3 separate regions of the Homo sapiens genome follow, and all the other regions are linked to region 1. Evidence: promoter capture Hi-C in 16 types of primary human blood cells and fetal thymus (Javierre and others, 2016). All regions are on one chromosome and are shown on one strand. The core of a region is centred on a gene start or on the middle of the fragment in contact, and the rest is flanking DNA. Distances in the headings are between cores, read along the strand shown.

Region 1 (3,188 bases), core at 609-3,108:
TCCCTTCCTTTTTCCTGAAAAACACAATGAGCAGACCTACAATGGAAATCCAAATTTCAACAAGTGTTATTACGAGTGCTGTACATTTTTATGCAACATATTTTATCTATTATAAAAGTAATGATATATGTGAATCTTCTGAAATTGCTATATAAATTATGAAATATAGCCAGAGAAAAAATATTTTAACATGGAATATTATTTGACAAGAAATCTGATATTGACAGCATGAGACTTTTGTCATACCTAATTACTATATTTACTCATTCTCTTTTGTATTAGTTGTATCTCCCACCATCAGAATTTCCAGGCTGAAACACAGAACTTTAATCTCTGAGTAAAAAGTGTGAAAAATAAAAGTTCTTTATTAAACTATGGCAACTTATAAAAAATAATATCTTTTTAAAGGTTTACTGGAATTTTCTTATAAACTCTTCTATATCTGACACCTAGACAAATGAAACCTTCTGAATAGATTTTAAGTATTTTAAGAAAGTAGATAGTTCTCAAGAATAATAGGAGGAACTGCAGGGAATTCAAAGGATATTAAAAGTCTGACTTGTACATTTAAATAAGGTTTCTTTGTTTGAATAATTTTTTGCTTTATGAAAATACACATCATTCTTTTCACAAAGGATGACAATCACACAAAAGAATAAAATATATGTAATTCTTTTTCCTCCTGCAATGATACAATATCAACTATTGTCTGTTTTGCTGTGATCGTGGAACAGCAGCATGATTCCATGTTCTCAAATATTCCCATGGTTTGTTCTTAAAGCCAGAATCTGGCACAATTTGAATTGGAAAGATAAATACAGCTCTGCTCAGCTGACAAACACACAGGCATGCACCACCCTCCCTTCCAAATTCTAACAGCAGAGTTTCTCTTCCCTTGAGAAATCTGAAATCTAAAATTGCATTCGGACTGCAAAATTCTGCTGAAAGAGCCTTAGGCTATTTTCCATGGTCTAAGGTAAAATCGTTTTGGCTTTGGTCCAACACAACGCCTCAGTTCCTTTAAAAGATTAACTAAAGGTCTGTGAACTTGGAAAAAAGAATTCCCGTTTCTGGAATTCGAGTTCTATGGATGTTTGTTATTGCTCGCATTTGTTATATGAAGACACCTCGCAAACAGGAGCGCAAACCTTAGAGCGCAGCTGCCTCCCGGGCTCGGGTCAGCGCTGGACCGCGCGGCAGCTGGACGGCCTGAGTGGCGCCCCGCGGGCTGCGCCCCCGGCCTCGCCAGAGACCCGCTAGGGTTGAGCCCTGACCCGGGCACCCCGCGGGCTGCTGTTCCCAGCTCCGGATGCCAGCCGGGCTGCAGCCAGAGCGCGTCCAGCCGGGGGCAGCGCTTTGTCCATCCCCCGCCCCATCCCCAGGAGGCTCCTTCGCGGATCCCCGACACTCTCCTCCCGGGTTCGGCCCGCGCCTGCTCCACCCGGGTGAGTTGGGAACCGGAGGGACCTGCTCGGCACGAAAGAATTCAGCCCAGTACCCTCTCCGCTGTCTCTTCACTCCTGACAAGTGCCTGTTCCGCCACCCTAATCCCCATTTTTCCAGCCGCGCTCCCTTCACCTTCCCCACCCCGCTCTCTTGGGACCCCCGACAACGCCCTGGCACCAGAGACGGGTGCGGGCTCCCAGGGACCTGCGCAGACTCGCAGCCCGCGCGGGGACCCGCCACGGCCCCTCGGTGCAGGCCTACCCGGCGCGAAAGGGGTTGGCAGGGAGGGGCGGGAGCCCGTACCTCGGGGCGCCCCGGCCGCTGCAGGCCCTGGGCTCCCGGGAGCGCGGCCCAGCGCGATCGCTCCTGCACCCCGGCGGTGGCGGCAGCAGCGGGAGCAGGACCTGGAGGCGGCGGTGGGGAAGAGGGGGCGGGGGTTTAACGGCGTCTCGAGAACACGTGACTGTTCCGGGGACCCCCGAGACCCTGCTCCAAGGCGCCTGCTCCGCGCCAGCCTCTTCCAAAGCCGGGGGCCGGGGGCGTCCCAGACCTACGCCGCTGTTTGGGCGCTCTAGGGAGAAGCCACAGGGCCCCGGGATGTCGTCCCTTCACCCTGGCCTCGGGTCCCAGGCCGACCAAGTTAACTTGATGGGCAAATCGAGTTTTGCCGGTCCAGCCCTCAACCCTGTGTAGTGAACTCTGAGAAGTCTTGGACTGGTGTGAGGATGGCTGTGCCCCTAAGTTCTTAGTATTCCTGAGAACAAGCTTCGACTCTCAGGTTTTATCTTTGTTTGGGGTGGGGGACGGTGGGGGGTGGTGTGGTGATAGAAAGAAAGAAAGAAAAAAGACAAAACACTGCTCTTCCTTTGCACCTCTTTGAAGTAAGGAAGAGTGGAGGTGGGGAGGCTGACCCAATGTTCAGGAGAGGCAACAGCGTCTGCGGTAATGAGCCCAGCAGAATAGAAGGGAAGTTTCCCCACTCCAAGGAGTGGCAGCTGTGGGTGTGGGCAAGTGGCAGGAGCAGGGGAGTGAAGCTGAAATGAAATCAACGCTGCTCAAGACTATATTCAATAGCAAAGAGAAGACGAAGGGCTAAAAACGAATTGTCACAGGTTAAAAAAAAAAAAAGACGGGAAAAAAGCCCACACAAAAGAAGAAGAGAAAACCTGTCCTTCTGTTCCTTCCCAACATGATTTCCATCCCTAATGTTTCCAAATCTGTATTGCGCAGGTTTGCTTTATTTTTAGCTAATCATTAGGTGGCAGGTACTTTAGGCGCGCGCGCGTGTGTGTGTGTGTGTGTGTGTGTGTGTGTGTGTGTGTCTGTGAGAGAGAGAGAGAGAGAGAAGGAGAGAAGGGAGAAAAGAGACATTGGGTAGATGTCCATGTGTCTTTGGACATAGCTTTACCATGAGAAAGGGTGTAGTTATTGTACCCTTTAATACTGAGAACTATTATGTAACAGACAGCATCTCCTGCTGAGTAGAGTCGTGTGGGATAAACCGAAGAGAACTGTACCCCTTGGGAGCAATGTGACTTGTAATTCTAACATCTGGGGCAGACATCACTGTTACAGAAGAGGTCAAAGAAAATTTTTTGTGTCCCCTTTCTGCTGGATTTCAGCATTCAATACTCAGGGGATCTGTATAGATTGCTATTTCATCAGTCAAAGAGTCATCCAAGAGCTTTTAAAGAACTCAAGTAAACACAGTTCCTGTTTTATTCTTCTGTGTGTTATTTCTG
Region 2 (3,314 bases), core at 434-2,933, 830 kb after region 1:
TTGGTTTGCTCAAAATTCTCATATCAAAACTCTTGTGAATTTGGATGCTGCTTCTATTTTTAATATATTGTTCTCTGTGACATTGGCATAGCATCATTCCATAGATTGCAGTGACCAGGAAAGCAATAGAAAGCTTTTGATTGCTACCTAAGAATCATTGTGAATAAATACATTCAAAAGAAAAGAAATCATTATCAAAGTTGAACACAAAGCTAAAGACATTATAACTTAAAGACTTTCCATTTTTGTGTAAAGCACTTATTTAAATTAGATTTATGTGGACCTTGAATAATCCATTTCCTTTCTGGAGTCCATTTGGAATTTTTTCTTTGGAATCTGCTATTTAAATTAAGGCTGTCAGGAAACGTTACCATGGTTACTTGCATCACCTGAGCCTGAAATGAGAGTTTTTGAATATTTTCATTTCTATGCTATCATCACTGCCTTATGTACAAGGCAATTATATCTTTGGGGGTTAATAATACATTTTACTACCTTTATATGAAGCTTGTTTATAACCCATTGAGATACTGCAAATGTACGCGTCCACTGAAAATGAAACTCTGTGTCCATTTCATTCACGTGGGAGACAGGATAGGAGAAAAGGGCAACTTAACTCCAGAGGATGATTTGAATTTGGCATTTTCTTAGGGGACAGATATACAGTGCCCATTGTTTCTTCTGTCTACTATTTTTAACATTTTTATTTTGCTTATTCTTTTCCGTTATTCTATCTGTAGTAAATAAAGACCTGCATCCTAGACCCTTAAGTTTAGATCCTTCTTGACCAACCCAAGAGCTTTATTCCTTAAATTATTCCTAAGTCTTTCCTCACAGTCCTACTAAATCTATTCCCTGTAAGATTCCTTAACTGAATGTGGCAAATAGCCAAACATGGCCAAAGTCCACAGCTAAAGGTGATGGCTAATAGATTCATTGAATTTCCACACTTGTTGACCAGATTTCTCTATATTTTAACATGCAGAGATATAATGAAAACACAATTCTTTATACAGAATAAAAATGTGATACTTCCCATAAGAGATTGACATTAAAGGTCTTGCATATCCTGTCTTTTAGAAATACACTTTTAATATCATTCTTTGTCCACCTCACCCTAACAAGATAAGATTCACCTCAAAAGCTCGGGCTTCATTGTGCAGGCTTCAGTTCTTGCATTCATAGCACAGTGGTGAAGTAGCCACTTGGAATCCAAATTGCCATCAAGGACAATTCTAAAGAAACGTCCAATAGTATAGTATGTCCTGTGTTCTTTCAATTTCCTCTTCCACAAAGCAGTGAATAAGGCTTAATGATCTTCATAAATTTTTATGGCATCAGTATTTGCAGAGAATTGGAGGATCCCCTTCCAAACTCAGAATTAACACAATGATAATATAATTATTATTTGCCTAGTAATTTATAAAGAATTGCTACATACATTACCACATTTTATCATAGACTCAACCCTAGGAAGCACATAGGACAAGAATGTTCATTATCTCCATCTTATATTTATGGAAAACAAAAATTTAGACATGGGACGTAATTTATCTGAGATTACATGATTGATCAGAATATGACCCCAAGGTGATTGATGATAAATCCCAAGAGCTGTCTCTTATATATTACGGTCCCTTCTCTTTAATCTCCACACCCAAGTCTAAAAAAGTAAATAACTTGTGCTTAGGATCTAAAATAGAACACAATGAGAAAAGTCAGGTATGTTTGTTTTTTCCTTTTCCTGACTTTTATTAGTGTTTTTTTTTCTCATTTAAAAATAAGTATACTTTTTCAATTCTTCTTCTAGGTAAAAATTAAAACACAAAATGCTCATTTGTTCTAGTTTTCTAATTTTGCATGTTTCTTTGTATGACAATGTCTATAATTAGAGTTTAATTCTATCCATCTATTCTGTTTTTATAGATAAGAATGTTTTATATATTTTTAAATCTGATTGAGTTTTTTTCATAAGGCACAAATCTCTTTGTCTAATTCACCTAATAATATAGGAAAAAGCCAGATTACCCCCAGAACAGTAGATGTTCAGATGTCTGACAGGCAATTTCCTGGAATAGCCCACCTCTGAGAGGATAAGCACACATGATACGCCAGATAGAAACAACTGAGTGGTGGCAGAGTACAACTAAACATAGCATTAGAGTAAGTGGCTGCATTAGTTACAGTCAACGGAAATTTCCAGAAAATAGGTCTAGGCTTTTAGTGAGAGTCTGTTCTCTAATTCTACTCAACGCATTAAATTCATTTTCCAGAAACTAATTTGAAGTTTCTCTATCCAAACATAATCTATAGAGATCTTTAAGCATTTTGGTGAATTTTGAAATTATTCTAAGAATGAATTGTATTGCCTTAATATAGCATAGTATTTAAAGGGCATATTTTCTGAGTATACTTTATATTGCCACTGACTGAAACATACAGTTATAATAGTGGTTCTTCCTCTTTTAGGTATATATTTATTCACTTTCCAGCAATATATACCAAAATTATGCTCTTATTAGTATTGTATTATTACAAAATTTGTTTCATAGTGTATATGTGCTTTTTATCCTTTTTATAAATTTAATGGTGTATAAAACCCACATTATAGCTCACATGTGCTTTAATCAGCAATGTATAAGAGCTATAATGATGAAGAGGAAATGGAAAGACCTTTGTGGAAGAAGAAATGGAAAGAACACAGGGCATATTTTCCCATAACCTCACTAAACTGGTATATTTTTGATATATTACATTTGTGAAGTGTAGGACATGATCTTTATTTTTTATTTTGCATTTCTGAACTCTGGAGGCATGAGGATCAGGTTTGCGGTAGTTCGGAAGGTCTGGAAAAGCTTTTCCAAGGAATTGCTGACCAAGCTGACACCTGAAGGGGTCAGGAGAGCTGATTCACTGAGGAGTGAGAACACTAGAGCACAGGCAGAAAGCACAGCACACATTCGAGAAACAGAAAGAAGGCCCCAAGGCCTGGAGCAAAGTCAGGAAGGGGCGCTTTGTTTAGATGAGGCTGGCAAGATAGCTCAGCCAAGGCCTGTCAATACATGGTGTTAGAGGCCATTTTAAGAACTGTGCTCTTTATCCAAGAACAATGAGAGACATTGAAGAGTTTTAAGCTGAGGGTGTGAGCATATTCTGGTTTGCCTGCCCAACACTGATTCTTCATGTGAGGATTAGGGTTGAATGTTGGAGGAAAAGAGTGAAAGCAATAAGGCTGGTTTTGATGCTCTTGCTGTGCTGATGATACAGCACTGCTCCCTGCCTTCTTTGCTCTCTATCACCACAAAAGAAAAGCC
Region 3 (3,469 bases), core at 526-3,025, 870 kb after region 1:
AGAGAAATTATAATATATTTTGAAGAGCATGAAAATGGAAACATAACAATCCAATCAGAGGTATATTTACTATCACTTCCAAGTTTATTGATTTTTCTATTTTATCACTATTACACTCTCAAGTTATCCCATCATTTTAATTAACATATATTTTTCGTTAATATTAGGGTTTCTATTTTTGGTAGTTTATGTTTCCCTGCTAAGATTTTCTATAGTTTCATTTATTGCTAGAAATTTTTTAGCTCATTGAAGATCATTATAACAGCTATTTTAATATCATAGTCTGCTATTTACATGATCTCAGATTGGTTTCCCCTTTATTATCTTTTCTTTTTAGAATGTGGCACTTTTTATATTTCTTTATTTATTAAGCAATGTTGGTTTGTATCCTGAACACTGTGAATATTATTTTGTGAGGACTATAGTTTTTTTATATTTCTATAAATAATTCTGGCATTTTGAGGATGGCACCTCAGATCTCAAGTTTTTGTTTTTGTTTTTAAATTTTACCTGGGCTGTTAAGTGTGATTTTGGAGTCAAAAGGAAAAAATGACAGGGTTTATTAGGGGTACTTATCCTTGCTCTCTGCTTGATAGAATTCCCCTCCCCACCCAACCTATCACATTTTCCAATGGCTGTGGTTTTCCCTAAATGTGCCCTGTATTTCCGACCAGGCGCAGTGGTTCACGCCTGTAATCCCAGCACTTTTGGAGGCCGAGGCGGGCGGATCACGAAGTCAGGGGATAGAGACCTTCCTGGCCAACACGGTGAAACACCGTTTCTACTAAAAATACAAAAAATTAGCTGGGCGTGGTGGCAGGCACCTGTAGTCACAGCTACTTGGGAGGCTGAGGCAGGAGAATGGCGTGAACCCCAGAGGTGGAGCTTGCAGTGAGCCAAGATCGCGCCACTGCACTCCAGCCTGGGCCACAGAGCGAGACTCCATCTCAAAAAAAAAAAAAAAAAAAAAAAAAAAAAAAAAAAAAAAGTCCTGTATTTCTTCAAGTCAAACATAATCTGGGCTTTCTGTAGACGCAGTGCCAACTCCAGCCCATTCTGAAGCTGAAGGTCAATACATATAGGAAAGTTAACTCATGCATTTTTTTTTCTACCAAGGGTCATTTTCCTTCCACATTTTGCCAGCATGTGTTCATTTTTTATTTGCTTTTGGTATTTTTTATTTTGTCCATTTTTAGTTTGTATGTGTGGAAAAAGCCAATCTGGCATAAACTTACTTGTACTTACTAGGTACAGAACTCCAGTTATACGGTTTATGTTTAATAATTATGAAAATTAATTAATTAAAGCTTTAAATGTAGGACTACTGGTCCGATAAATCATAAAATTAAATTTTAAAGAAATCATTTGAAATAACATGGATTAATTTTGATTACTTTTTATGTCATCTCTGCCTGCCCTATAGTAGGTGTTCAGCAAAGACCCTTTGGACAAATTAGAAACCATCAATTCTAGCATCCTGTTGCTTAGGAATTCTAATCACTCTAAGTAGATGACGTGAAAAGGATGTGGTAGTTGAAGAGATAATAACTCTGCCCAGGTTTTCAAAGAGATTGATGGACTCTCCCTCCCGCATTATGGAGTGCTCAGCCTCTAATTACTCAACTGCCTATTTCTCACTCTTTTCCCTGAAAAGTGAGAAAAATTTTGCTAAGTGCGTGGGTTTTAGGTCCTTCATTTTCTGTATTATATGTAGATAATATACTCTTTTTAAAATTGTTTTTCATCAAATAATCTTATTTAAAAAAACTGTTTTGACTTCATTTAATTTTTCATACTTTGTTCAGTCACTCTGATTATTGCATGTATGTTTATTTGCTGTTTTACTAAACTACCCAATAACACACTTACAAGCATTAGGAGGGTAACTTACCAAAATAACTAATTTCCTCTATTATGTGTTGCTACTTGTTTCTTTTTTAAAGATTATCTTTATTTCCAAACTCTATAGACATATTTATTAATACTAGGGAACTTGAACAGAAACATCGGCTAGTCATACTTAAGAATAGAAAATATACAACATGTGCAGAATATGATGATTATTTAGCAATTAACACAATCTTATAAGGTCTTATTATGCTTTAAAAGTATGCTAAAATTTGCTCATTAATTTTATTTATAGACCTGTCTAAAACCTGTCACACAATTTCTATTACGGTGACTTGAAGCTACTAGGAGGAATTCAGTAGGCTTTATGGTTTAGGGACAATATTGAAGCTTTCAATTCTTTTATCCTTTCTTGTAGACCTGTAAAGAATATTACAAAGAGTGAGGGATTTGCAATTTACCAGGAAAGATCTCAGCCAAGTAACAAAAACAAGTTATTCTCTTGTGACTTGAAGAAACAAAGTGTATTATATTCACTAGTCCTTTCTCCCTATGTATTGCTTTTACAGGATTATATTATTTAAGATAAAGTGGTATTATTGTAAAGTATTCTGATAAGCCCTTTCTCTGGAGTCTACTCCCTGAGAAAGAATACATATCTTATTGTAGTTTCCCAGCATGTTCTTTAAGATATAAGACAGATATAAATCTAAACTCAAAAGAAATGTTAACTAAACTCTCAATCAGTACTTATCCTGTCAAATATCTTGCTAGAATTCTCAGTGCTAAGATTCGTCCTTTAATGGGGATTAGCAGAAACAGGCCTATTGAGTATTACATTATTTATCCTGTTATTATTCTTAAGACTTTGTTTATTGGTAACACTGTTATTCTGCTCTTTGATTTTCAACCAGCTCTTTAATGATCTCAGTTCCTCATTCATTTTTGTTAATGAAGGGCAAAAGGCAAGGGAAATGAATTTCCCCATAATACTTCACTCTTGCCTCTGGTGAATTGGCTTTTCCCATATTCATTGAAATGTGTTATCCCATTTATCTAAATATGTCAATGACTTGCAGAAGGGACTGCATCTGAATGTGACTTGGATAAACATGAGCTAGTAACCCAAAGCAAATGTCTTTACTTTTACTCTCTAGATATAATTTATTAGTATTAAATGACCTTTTATATTTTGAGAACATAAGTAGAGGAAAACAGATGCCACATGGAACATTTAAAAGCATAGATAAAGAAAGTAAAGCTAATGACAGGAAACATGTTATTTTGCTTTAGAATGCAAAGTTAGGAAACAAAAAGTCTGTGAGTGTGTGTGTGTGTGTGTGTGTGTGTGTGTACAGAACTAACGTTTTCTGGGAAAGTATCCCGTGCCAGACACTACTCCTATGTAGAATGTGCTTTTATTTTATCTTTTGTTTTACCATGTAACCCTCATAGTCACCTCTCTAAGAAGTGTGATTAAAAGAAGCAGATCCTCAAAGAAAATGTGCACTTAGACCTGGAGGCAGAATGTGTGGGATGGGAAGATATTTACTCTTTGTAGGTATAAAGCAGCTATAACGTCTTTCCTATTGTCTTTCAGAACCTAGAACAGACTAACACA

What was found. Contacts are between HindIII fragments. The CHiCAGO score rates a contact against its expected background, and 5 or more counts as called.
Region 2: a contact is called between a fragment that was not itself captured here and the fragment with the promoter of NPY5R in region 1, in 4 of 17 cell types (endothelial precursors, erythroblasts, M1 macrophages and 1 more). The highest score is 8.6, in endothelial precursors.
Region 3: a fragment that was not itself captured here is called in contact with the fragment with the promoter of NPY5R in region 1 in 1 of 17 cell types (megakaryocytes); the score reaches 6.1 in megakaryocytes.

What each region holds. Positions count from the first base shown.
Region 1 is chr4:163,342,562-163,345,749 of GRCh38, reverse strand. It overlaps NPY5R (neuropeptide Y receptor Y5), which reads right to left and starts at 1,858. Exons shown (of 4, transcript NM_006174.4): 1 at 1,750-1,858; 2 at 1-36. It also overlaps a transcript of NPY1R not described here. The HindIII fragment of the contact is 4,145 bases long and covers 1-2,213 here.
Region 2 is chr4:162,509,955-162,513,268 of GRCh38, reverse strand. No RefSeq gene overlaps it. Among named protein-coding and RNA genes, the nearest start is that of FSTL5, 350 kb to the right of the region's middle. The HindIII fragment of the contact is 2,348 bases long and covers 510-2,857 here.
Region 3 is chr4:162,469,593-162,473,061 of GRCh38, reverse strand. No RefSeq gene overlaps it. Among named protein-coding and RNA genes, the nearest start is that of FSTL5, 310 kb to the right of the region's middle. The HindIII fragment of the contact is 931 bases long and covers 1,310-2,240 here.